2 separate regions of the Homo sapiens genome follow, and region 2 is linked to region 1. Evidence: promoter capture Hi-C in 16 types of primary human blood cells and fetal thymus (Javierre and others, 2016). All regions are on one chromosome and are shown on one strand. Each heading gives the region's core, a stretch centred on a gene start or on the middle of the fragment in contact. The rest is flanking DNA. Distances are from core to core; before and after follow the strand shown. Region 1 holds the start of FAM131A (family with sequence similarity 131 member A). Region 2 overlaps LINC02069 (long intergenic non-protein coding RNA 2069).

Region 1 (5,816 bases), core at 1,025-3,524:
GCAGGCATCATACCCAGGCCCTGAAGGATCCCACTCTGTGACACCCTTGCCTCCTTCCAAGCCTCCTTTGAATCCACTGCTGATCTCCTCTGCCCAATAAAACCCCCCTTCTCAGGCCGGGCGCAGTGGCTCACGCCTGTAATCCCAGCATTTTGGGAGGCCGAAGCAGGCGGATCACCTGAGGTCGGGAGTTGGAGACCAGCCTGGCCAACATGGTGAAACCCCGCCTCTACTAAAAATACAAAATCAGCCGGGCGTGGCAGCGCATGCCTGTAATCCCAGCTACTCTGGAGGCTGAGGCAGGATAATCGCTTGAACCCCAGAGGCAGAGGCTGCGGTGAGCCGAGATCGCACCATTGCATTCCAGCCTGGGCAACAAGAGCGAAACTCCGTCTCAAATAAATAAATACATAAAAATAAATAACAAAAAACAAAAACCCTTCTCCACCAATCCCTGTCAGCAAGCAGCCCGCCTGCCTCCAGGAAAAGGAACTCAGCTTTCCTCTGGGCCAAGAATGCCATCCTTACGTGAAAAAATGCTTGCCATCACTTAAGGCCCATCTCAAGTGTCACCTGCAAATAATGCTTTCAGCCGACAGCCTCTTCTTTTCTCTGACACACCCCGCCCCCATCATTGCCCTTGTCTGTCTCCCGAGGGAGCTCAGGATGGCAAGGCCTAAGTCTGATGCACGTAAGTTCCTAACTCCACCCTGTACCTGGCTCAGGGCTCCCTGACAAGCCCCAGCAAATGTTTCCCTCACTTAATGAAGTTGGAGGCACACATCCCTCCCCGGCATTGCCCAGCTCTCTTCTATCACGTTCCCGTCCCTCACAAGGGCAGCCAACACTGCCCCTTGACCTGAGGCCCACCCTCGATCCCTCCCCTTGGGTACCTGGCTGACAGGGCCCCCAGGGTGGCGCCAGTAGCCTCCAGCCAGGCCTAGGCGGGGGAGCACCTGCTGGGTGTTTCTTAGCTTGCTCTCCCTCCCTCGCTTCGCTCCCCTCAGCCGCCGCCATCCGTGCCCGGCGCTCCGCGCAGCTGCGGCCCAGGCCCAGAGAAAAGGTGTATGTCTCCCTGGCAACCCATCACCACGCAACAGGGTCTCCCGGGATACGGCCCGGGATGCGCTGACGTCAGCGCGGAAGGCGCGAGCTCTCCGCCTGCTGGCACAGCGCCGAGCAGAGCAGACCGGCACGGGGGCGGCCTCCCGGCCCGCCGCCGGATAGCGCCTCCGCCCGCCGGAAAAGGGAGCCAGAAGCTGGCTGGCCAGGCGTGGGTGGGGGCTGCAGATCCCCTTTATATGGATGACGTCCTCCTTCCCCCCACCACCAGGGGCCCAGCACCTCTGGCAAGTCCTGACTGTCCACCGAGGAAGGGCGGGAGGACCTGCTCCAGCCTCGGAGGGTTCGAGCAGATCCCAAAGAGGATAGAGAGAGACCCCGAGGAAGTTCGATCCACTCCACAGCCCAAGCGGGGTCCGAGGACACTGAGAGGAAGGGGAAAGGCTGTTGAGCTGTGCCCCTACTTCTGCAGAGATCCCCATTTTCATCCAGTATTGCCGTATCATTTCTCGGCCCCTCCCCCACCTTCCAGAAGACCAGCGCCCACTGAGTGCTCTCCTCAACTCTAAAAGCCCCCATCCCACACATCACTGACCCTCGGGCCCCTGGGGCCATTCTGTGGCAGCCCACTTGCCACCTTCCTGCTCTGGATAAATTTTGCCTCAAAACCCTAGGGTGAAACCAAACAATGATAAATTCTGACTCTCCTTCCCGTTTCCCAGCCTACCCATTCCTCTTGGAAAGCACACTGAGTTCTTCCGCCATCACTGTCCCCCCCACCACCGCCACCCTGGACCCTTTGCAGGAGGGTTGCCTTCCTTCTCTCTTCCTGCTGCCTTCTTTCCTCTCGCCAGCCTCAGCTGGTCCACAGCTCTTTACTCTTCTTTTCTGACGAACTCATGATATTTTTTCTGATTTTCACCCCTGTCCCCTGAAGCCGTTTCCTGATGCCCTGTCTGGCCCCAGCCTGGTTCTCCCTGTTTCAGCCTGGTTCTTAATATCTAAGCCAGAGTAATTTTCCTTTTCCACCTAAGCACCCTACTGCTCAGCTTCCCATCATCTCCCAGATCACATCCATGATCCCTGGTCTCACCTCTGCGACTTGTCTGACAAGTCCATCGTCCTCCAGGCCCTTCACGCTGCCACAGAAACATTTTGCCCAGCACAGAAATCATAGGCATGCTGGCTGTGTTGATGCAGAGAACCAAAAGCCCAGAACCGCTCCAGGCTCAGCTCCCAGTTCTATTCCTGTTTTGGCTCCGGATGCTGAGCCAGTCCCCTCCCCATTTGGAACCTGTGCCTAGTCACATAAGGAGAACATTCCTGCCTCATGGCTCTGAGGAGGTGGGAACACCAGGGCTCAGCCAAGCTCTCTGGGACTCGGGGAGCTGAGGCCCATTCCCTAGACAGTGCCAACAGGCAATGTACATCACAACTGACCTTTAGCTGGAGCAGCCGTCTCTATCCCTGAGCCTCGGCCAGCTGTTGGTCCCCAGAAATGCTACCAACCAGAAGGAAAACAGGAGGTTACAGGCCATCCCTGGCCCCCAACTGGTACCTAACCAGGGCTCTCGAGGCCAGTCCTGAGGTCAGCCAAACTCACCCCTGACAAGAGAAGGTGATGACTTCCTGAACTCCAAGCCTTGATAGGGCCAGAGAGATCAGAGCAGTCAGCTGCTCCTCAGCTTCAAAAGCCACGAGGTTAACTTAGGACTACAAATCCCAGAATTCCTCAAGGGAAGTACAAATCTCAGCCAGTCTTAGCTCCAAAGAACATCAAGTACCAACCACACCAAGGCCTGTGTGACTGACCACCTGCCCTGAAGGTCCAGGACCCATCCCAAACCCAGTCCTGCCTTGCCTTATGCGTGGAGAAATCCACCACACCGGAGTAAAGGAAGCTGGCCGACCTCTGATGCACAGGACTACGGCCAGGCCCGGTGTGCATGGCCACCCACGGAAACCGAGGCCCAGGCAGGGGTCAGCACTGTGGGAAGGAAGCCCTGATGGCCTGCCTCTGGGTTCCTCTTTCCCTCCACAGAGTAGAGTGATTTGTTTTTGCTGAGTGGGGGCAGGACATTAAAACAACTGTAATAGGTGAGAGGTGATTCAGTGTTCACAGGTGCCCCAAACGGGACCTCAGTCCCCCTTCGCCGACTGACTGAAGAGGGGAGTCAATGTCCGACAAAAATTCTGTGGTAGGGTGCTTAGCCAGGACCGAAAGGCTACCTCTTTAAGAAGATGGGGACACGGCTGGGAGAAGCAGGTTCCCAGCACAGGGCCACTCCCAGGACTGTGAAGGCAGAGGTGTAGGCGGAGGGGAGTGTGTGTGTGGGCGCGCAAGGCCAGTCGCCGAGGGCTGGAGTGGTGGGGGCATCGGGCTGCCCAGCCCCTCCCGGGGCTGTGCGTCTCCGGCCACCCTGAGCAGTGGGCACACGGCAGCCAGCGGCGAGACCATGCGTCTGCCCTGCAAAACCCCAAGGCAGGCAGGCCGTGGGAGCGAACCGGAGTCGGTCTGGCCCCTTCCCTGCTCATTCCCGCTCCCTCCTGTTGCCTGGCCCGCCTCCCGGTGCAGGCTCCTCCCTCTCCCGACACCGGCCCCCTCCTCAAGGCCCCCACCCACCCGCGGCCCGCGCACCGGCGGCCGCAGCCCGACTCCCCAACCCGTACCCGGCCTCCGCCTCTTACCCTGACCCGCCGGGCTCCGAGAGCCGATACAGCCCATGGCCGGGCACCCAGGCACGCTAGCCTGCGCTCGGGGCGCGGGCCATCGCCTTGCAGAGGGTAGGGTCGCGGCCACACTGGGGAGGGGAGAGCCCGTGAGAGGGGAGGGGTGGGAGCCGCGCGTCCGCCGCCGCTCCCCGGAGAGGGAACCGGGCCGGTGACGTAAGCGCGGGGGCGTGACCGCCGCGTCACCACCCAAAGTAGGCGGGGCGCAGCGACGTCACAGCCACGCAGAGGCGGCCTGGACCGGGTTCGAAAATGCCGGTCCTCTCCTCCCAGAGCCGACTGCCACCTGAAGGCAGGGGCGGCGAACACTCACTAAGCCAGCCCAGTCACACTACACGGGGTCGCAAAACCTCCCTTCATGCATCCAGCCCCTTCATTTTACAGATGACACCTTCAAGCCATAAAGGGATTCTCCAGCTATAAACAACCCGAAACCCAAAAGCCTTCCCCACACAGGGGCTTGAATCATTCTGGTAGGAGAGCAGAGCCTAGCAAGGATGTCCTATCACTAATCTCCCTTTTCTCCGGACCAGGAAGGCACCTATCAAGCCCATCTGAGGGCCCAACCTTCCAGGAAACCTCAGATCCCTGCAATCATGGACAGGGGAAGAGGCAGGAGGGGTGCCAGGTTACAGGGAACAGCGCTACAGTACCAGCTCTGGGAAGGATCCCCACCTATAAACACCTTCTCTAGAGGGAGCAGGGCATAAAGCAGAAAGGCAGTGAGCTTAATTGAATTCATGTTTAATAATTACAGGCACCGTGCCCCCCCTTCCCCCTGCCCAGGCAACAGCAGGGGTGGTACAGGGGCTGGGGCATATGCCCCCAGCAGCGAGGACGGCAGTCCCGAGAGTGATTTTCAGAAAATAAAAAAAAGGACCCCAGGGGCAGGCGTTGGTGCCCCTCCCCACCCCAAGACACACCAAATTTCAAGACTTTATATATAATATATCTCTGTGCCCCAGGGGGAGGAGAGGGACACCTGGCGGCATCCTGGAGGGGGGCCCAGGCAGCCCCAAGCCATCCTGCCTCTTCAGCCACTTTATTAGTTCAGACACATCACACTACAGGCACCCACTGCCACCGCCGCTGCTGCCGCCCCCCTGCAGTCCAGGCGGCTAGCCGGGCCATCTGTGTGTCCATGGGGCTCCAGGTCCCCGGCCCCACCAGCCCTCAGTTGTGGTCAGACTCCTCCTCTGCTTCACGGAGCCACTTGAAGAAGGCTGTGACAGATTTAAGGGCCACACCCTTGCCCTGCTGCTCAGCGGGGTCCTTGCTACTCTCCCAACTGTAGAAGGCATCCTCCTTCACCACGTCCTCGTCATACAGTGCGTCAAAGAACATCCGCAGCAGGTCTGCAAGCAGGCGGGACAGCAGTTAGAGGTGACTGGCCACCGCCACCCCAGCCCACCCCAGGGAACCCTCCCAAGTTCCACTGTTCAAACAAGGCCCTGATGCACCAGCCTGACATTTGTGGCCATTCCAGAGTGACTAGGCCTCTGACAGGATGCTAATCTCATGATCTGAGACTGCTGCACAGCAATGAGTCACTTGGCCATCAGAAAAACCTTACAAACTTGCTTGGCCTCACCTTGGCAGCCTGAAACCTCTCTGCCCATGATGTATTTAATGGAGAAAACTATATTCAGAATTGGTACTCCTGAATTCAGGAAATCGCTAAAAGTCCTATATATATCATACATAAAGTCCTATATATATCCTACATGTAACCTGAACATTCACTGCCCCCCAAACAGATCCTGACAACTCCTGATCTCAATTTCCCTTCCTTCCCCACACATTTCCTGTACATACACACCTTCTCTGGCCTTGACACTTTTGTGGATGCTATATCCTTTGCCGGAAACTTCCTCGTGTCTTGTTCCTTCAGGACTCAACTCAAGCATCACCTGTTCGGGCCCTCTTTCTCCTCAACCCCTAGCTGCTGGGTAGCCTTCCCAAGCAACGTGTCCTATAACCCCTGAAACACAACCGACCCCAGTGCCCACAAGGCACCACCAGTC
Region 2 (5,816 bases), core at 1,440-3,939, 430 kb before region 1:
GGAGACAGACAGAACCCTACACTTGATGGGATGTCGGGAGAGCGTCCAGTCTAGCCCTGTGTAGATTTCTGAACTACCCAAGACTGCTGGCCATCTGTCCCAAGAACAGGTGTGACCAGGAACCAGCCTCTGTTAGCTAGGAACACAGAGTCTGTTCATTCATTCATTCGTTCACTCACGCATTCGCCTAATCACAGCTCAGCATGGCAGAGCCGTGAGTAGGGGCCCTCAGATACCACATGCAGCTCGGCGCTTCCCAAGCTTTGTTTTTAGTTGAGGAATGCTGGGTTTAAGTGAAACCGTATGGAGGCATAAACAAATACAAGAGAGCCGCTCCAGCTAAAGCAGGGGAGGGGGCCCTGCGCCCGGCCCACTTGCCTCCCTTCCACTAAGGGGGCTTCACCAGATTCTCCTGTTTCAAGGAGAAATAGAGTTTGGAAACCTCTCATTTTATAAACGAGGACACTGAGGCACAAAGCAGGGTAGTTGGTGCCTTGCCTAAAGTCATACAGATTTCATGTAACAAATTGTGCTGGCTAGGTATGGGAGGATGCAGAGCTCACAGCACAGATGAATACCTCCATCGCAAAGGCTGAACCAAATGCCCCGTTAAATCAAGAGATCTGCCTCTCTCAGCTTTGTTTTCTGAAGAAATCCCTTCCCAGGGTTCTTCCCCAGCATGCGGCACTCAGGGAGAACCACAACCTTGTCCTCTAGGGCCCAGCAGGTGTAATGTTCAGTGGGCATGCGCTGGTGCAGCATACTGCCAGCATCCACGCCGGTGTCCTGGGGGTTTACCTGATTGTTAACTATTTTAAAGATCACACTTGGATCCCACTACCAATGTTTCCAAAGTACAAGTAAGAGCCGGACGCGGTGGCTTATGCCTGTAATCCCAGCACTCTGGGAGGCCAAGATGGGCAGATCATTTGAGGTCAGAAGTTCGAGACCAGCCTGGCCAACATGGTGAAACCCCGTCTCTACTAAAAATACAAAAATCAGCTGGATGTGATGGCAGGTGCCTGTAGTCCCAGCTACTCAAGAGGCTGAGGCAGGAGAATCACTTGAACCCGGGAGGTGGAGGTTGCCGTGAGCCAAGATAACACCACTGCACTCCAGCCTGGGCAATAGAGCGAGACTCCTTCTCAAAAAAATAAAAATAAAAGCAAAATGTGACTAAGAATCAGACAGTAACAGAAAATATCAGTAACAAAAGAGTCCACACCTGCCTTTCTCATTGCTATTATTTGATACCAGAACTACCTGAAATCTTTCAGAAAGAGGGAAGAGCATTCTTTTCCTGGGAGCTTTCTAGGTGCAGACTTCCGCTCATAGCTGACAGTGCACAATGGGCAAAGAGTGACCAGGCTGACTTCTTCTTCTTCTTCTTTTTTTTTTGAGATGGAGTTTTGCTCTTGTCGCCCAGGCTGGAGTGCAGTGGTGTGATCTTAGCTCACTGTAACCCACGCTTCCCGAGTTCAAGCGATTCTCCTGCCTCAGCCTCCCAAATAGCTGGGATTACAGGCACCCGCCAACACGCCCAGCTAATTTTTGTATTTTTAGCACAGACGGGGATTCACCATGTTGGCCAGGCTGGTCTCGAACTCCTGATCTCAGGTGATCCTCCTCAGCCTCCCAAAGTGTTGGGCTTACAGGCGTGAAACACCGCGCCTGGCCTATGCTGTCTTCTGGAGATGGACTGAAGGCCACACCAGGCCTCGGGACACAGCCTGAGGGCTTCAACCCCTGGGAAGGGATTTCTTCAGAAAACAAAGCTGAAAGAGGCAGGTCTCCTGATTTAACGGGGCATTTGGTTCAGCCTTTGCGATGGAGGTATTCACCTGTGCTGTGAGCTCTGCATCCTCCCCTACCTAACCAGCACAATTTGTTACATGAAATCTGTATGACTTTAGGCAAGGCACCAACCACCCTGCTTTGTGCCTCAGTGTCCTCGTTTATAAAATGAGAGGTTTCCAAACTCTATTTCTCCTTGAAACAGGAGAATCTGGTGAAGCCCCCTTAGTGGAAGGGAGTTCCATCCCTGCCCCTTCCACTTGCTGACAGTCTGCATGTGGCGGGGGCACGCGTTTCTCTAATCCACAGTGTACGTGTAGTGGGTGCTGTCCCCCCCAGGAACCACCCTTGGCTGAAGGGAGCCGTCTTGCCTGGGTTTCCCCCTCCCAGAGGGCACAAGGATCCCATCGCCTCAATGGGGGCACATCTTAAAAGGGCCACCCAAGCTTCAGCACACCAGCCTCGCTGCCGTTCAGCCTTTCCTGTGCCAGCCTGCCTTCATGACTCCCCAGCGGGGCTGCTCCGTGAGTGCTCCCAGTTACCCTGCATGCCGACAGCCCATGAGTGCTCCCAGTTACCCCGCACACCCAGAGCCTGCGTTTTGAGAACCTGGCCCAAAGCAGTACTCAACCACAAAACAGGGGCAGATTCCTACCTCTCGGCTACGGTGAGGGTTAAGTGAGCACACTGCTCACATGAAATTTCCTCTCCAACGCAGCGCCTGGACTATAGTAAATGAGCCATACATACTTGTTCATTTCCTCCCTCTCTCCATTCTTTCTTCCCCCAAGTGTGTTTATAGTCTTTATTGTGAGTGTTCTCTATCCTTGGAGAGAGACATCTGGCTCTCTGTTCATTGGCAGAACTGAAGTGATTGACACACTCTAAACCTAGTAAGTGTCTCATCCCTTTCTGACATACAATTGTTTATGTAGCTGTGCTCACTCCTCATACCAACACACACACACGCACACACACACACACGTACAGACACACACACGCACACACATGCCCACAAGTGGTATTGCCGAATCCTGCAGTCTTTGTAGTTTCACAAACATCCAAATCTTGACACCACTGCCACAACACACAGAGAACTGCTTGTGTGGAGACCTGTATGCCAGGTGCTGTGAGACATCCCAGGAGGGAGAAGCTCATTTTCCAATGATGGAATCAAGGAGGGCTTCATGAGAGAGGTGACATTTGTCATGGGCTTTGAAGGCTGCATAGAAATCCAGCAGGCAGAGGGGTGGGAGTGGCTTTCCAAGCCAAGGGAACTGTGGAGTTGGGAAAACACAAAGCATGTCTAGGCAAATCCTCCAGTCTAACTGAAGATAAAGCTTCAAGAGGAGGATGAGAGGGAGGAGCCAAGGGTGGGAAGGTAGTTTGTGACTTGACTGGGTGGGGCCTTGAGTGCCAAGCTGAGGCCAGAAGTAATGAGATTCTACTGACAATTTCTGAGAGGTGGAGGGAGAGCTTTTGGAAGGTCAGTCATGGAGATGATTGAATGAAAAAGATACTGAGGTCAGGCCAGACGCGGTGCCTCATGCCTGTAATCCCAGCACTTTGGGAGGCCAAGGTGGGTGGATCATATGAGGTGAGGAGTTCGAGACCAGCCTGGCCAACATGACAAAACCTTGTCTCTACTAAAAATAGAAAAGGTAACTGAGAGTGGTGGCACACACCTGTAGTCCCAGCTATTCGGGAGGCTGAGCTAGGAGAATCGCTTGAACCCAGGAGGCAGAAGTTCTAGTGAGCCGAGATCACGGTGCTGCACTCCATCCTGGGAGACAGAGCAAGACTCCATCTCAAAAAAAAAAAAAAAAAAAAAAAAAAAGGAAAGATACTGAGGTCAGAAAAACAGTGAGGAGGCCGTGGTAACAGACAGAGCTAGCAAGGACCCCCCTCCTGGAGAGGGGATTGGTAGACCAGGAGAACAGGAGGAGTCTCAGGATAAGAATGTGAGCATCCACCCCTTCCAGATCACCACTACCACGAAAACCTTCAGGGGCAGCTGTGCACATACCCCCAGCTCATCATCTGAGAACGGGTGCCAAGTGAACTCCATCTCCAGAAATTGTTTGGGGAAGTGAAAGAGGAAACCGAACTCAAAATAAGGGTGCCTGACTCACTGTCTCTCAGTGACCATGTGCAGAAAAATCCTCTGAGCCTGCCACCAGCCACCTCCTCTGTCCACACCTTACTTCACAGGAATTCAGACACCAAGAGGGAGTCCCACACACGAAACACCTGGAGACGTGAAGAAACAGACTCAGCCCTACCTCCCTCCTCCCTCGCTGCGAGGTCTTGGGCAATCACTGACATATTTCCGGGCCTCAGTTTTCTCATCTATAAAATGATAATAATAACCAGCACTACCCATTTGTGGGACTTTTATGAGATCAAATAGCCCAATAAACTCGAAAATGCTTAAAGCTCTTTGGAAGAAATGCAAGTGTAATTGTTGAAGTTGTTATGTCATTGGATATTACTATCGCCACTACCGCTATAAACTTGCATATCTCTTTTCTCTGAAGAGGTCAAATGCTGTTCATGGTGTTCTTCTTTCATGAATAATTTCCAAACACCTCCTCTTGTTTACAGGTGGGCCCTACACGAGAAGGTTCCACAGATACTGCCTGCCTAAAGTGGATCTTGAGTCAGATCCTACGAAAGCCAGAAGGAGGGCATGGCTGAGAGTACCTCGGAGAGGCAGAAAAAGGGGAGCTGACTCAACACTGCTCTGTTGGGAAGGTGCGGTGTCCCGGGGAGGGAAAGGCAGGTGACTCAAGGTGAAACTTTCTGGACACAGAGGAGCTGGGATCTCTCATCCAATTCATGCAAATCCTTGGCTGCCTCAACCCAGATCCCACCCCTCCCCATACGAGGCTACCTTCTGGTCTCACTGCCTTGAAATCTAACAGTGCAGCCAACGTGACTCACCAACCATGTGGCTTGCAAACATCACTAAGCTTGTCTCATTTTCCTCATCTGTAAAATGGTTTAATAATCTCTGAGCTGCCTGCCTTCCAGGGCTGATGTGGGGAGGAGGAACCCATGGGCTGAGGATGTAAGAATGCTTTGGTGACTATGAGGTGTTGTATCAAGGTAAAGGGTTGTTGAGGGAATGTTTTAAGATGATTTCTGGGTCAGGCGCGGTGGCTCACACCTGTAATTCCAGAACTTTGGGAGGCCAAGGCAGGTAGATCACCTGAGGTCAGGGGTTCGAGACCAGCCTGGCCAACATGGTGAAACCCTGTCTCTACTAAAAATACAAAAAATTAGCCAGGCGTGGTGGCAGGCACCTATGATCCCAGCTACTCGGCAAGCTGAAGCAGGAGAATTCCTTGAACCCGAGAGGCAGAGGTTGCAGTGAGCCAAGATCGCGCCATTGCAATCCAGCCTGGGCAACAGAGTGAGACTCCGTCTCAAAAAAAAAAAAAAATGACTTCTGGCTTGAGGGTGGTGGTGGTGGTGGCGACTGGAGGCTGCTCTGGAGTGGTTAGGGGAGATGTTGGGGGAATCCCAGGAAGCCAGACCCAAAGTTCCAAAGTAGGGAGAATTCTCTTGAACATAGGTTTAAAGTATCTCTTAGTATTCTGGTACAAAGTTCCTTCTTCCCCCAAAAAGCAAATCACAAGACCAGGACAATGTGTGGGGATCACGATCTTCCGGCAGCCCACAGCTTGGCTGTTGCACTCTTCCTGAATGCCTCTGGACTTTCTAGACAGAGGCACGGAGCTGGTCTGGGACAGTCCCTCCAACCAGACTCTGATCACACCCCCAAACTCAAGCCCACCAGGCTGACTGATGTTGACTTCTACCAGTTGAAGGCCATCCTTAGCCACACTTTCCCTCCTTGGTGTAGTGGCCATAGACTCCGGAACTAGACTGTCTGGGTTCAAACCCCAGGTTTACTAATAGCCAGCCATGTGTGCTCTTGGGCAGGTTATTAACCCTTCTGGGCCTTCACTTCCCCATCTGTATTTGTGGCTAATAGGGCCCATCTCATAGCCTTGTTT

What was found. The method cuts DNA at HindIII sites, captures the fragments that hold promoters and counts their contacts. A CHiCAGO score of 5 or more calls a contact.
Region 2: a contact is called between a fragment that was not itself captured here and the fragment with the promoter of FAM131A in region 1, in 2 of 17 cell types (M1 macrophages and M0 macrophages). The highest score is 5.4, in M1 macrophages.

Annotation. Positions count from the first base shown.
Region 1 is chr3:184,334,058-184,339,873 of GRCh38, reverse strand. It overlaps FAM131A (family with sequence similarity 131 member A), which reads right to left and starts at 2,274. Exons shown (of 6, transcript NM_144635.5): 1 at 2,156-2,274; 2 at 1,345-1,487. The coding sequence starts at 2,243. It overlaps EIF4G1 (eukaryotic translation initiation factor 4 gamma 1), which reads right to left. Exons shown (of 33, transcript NM_198241.3): 33 at 4,521-5,147. The coding sequence ends at 4,966. RefSeq lists enhancers at 1,121-1,732, 5,041-5,190 and silencers at 3,531-3,600, 3,524-3,724, 3,641-4,070. The HindIII fragment of the contact is 18,780 bases long and covers 1-5,816 here.
Region 2 is chr3:184,764,052-184,769,867 of GRCh38, reverse strand. It overlaps LINC02069 (long intergenic non-protein coding RNA 2069), which reads left to right. Exons shown (of 3, transcript NR_110043.1): 2 at 4,399-4,548. Among named protein-coding and RNA genes, the nearest start is that of LINC02069, 6.2 kb to the left of the region's middle. The HindIII fragment of the contact is 894 bases long and covers 2,243-3,136 here.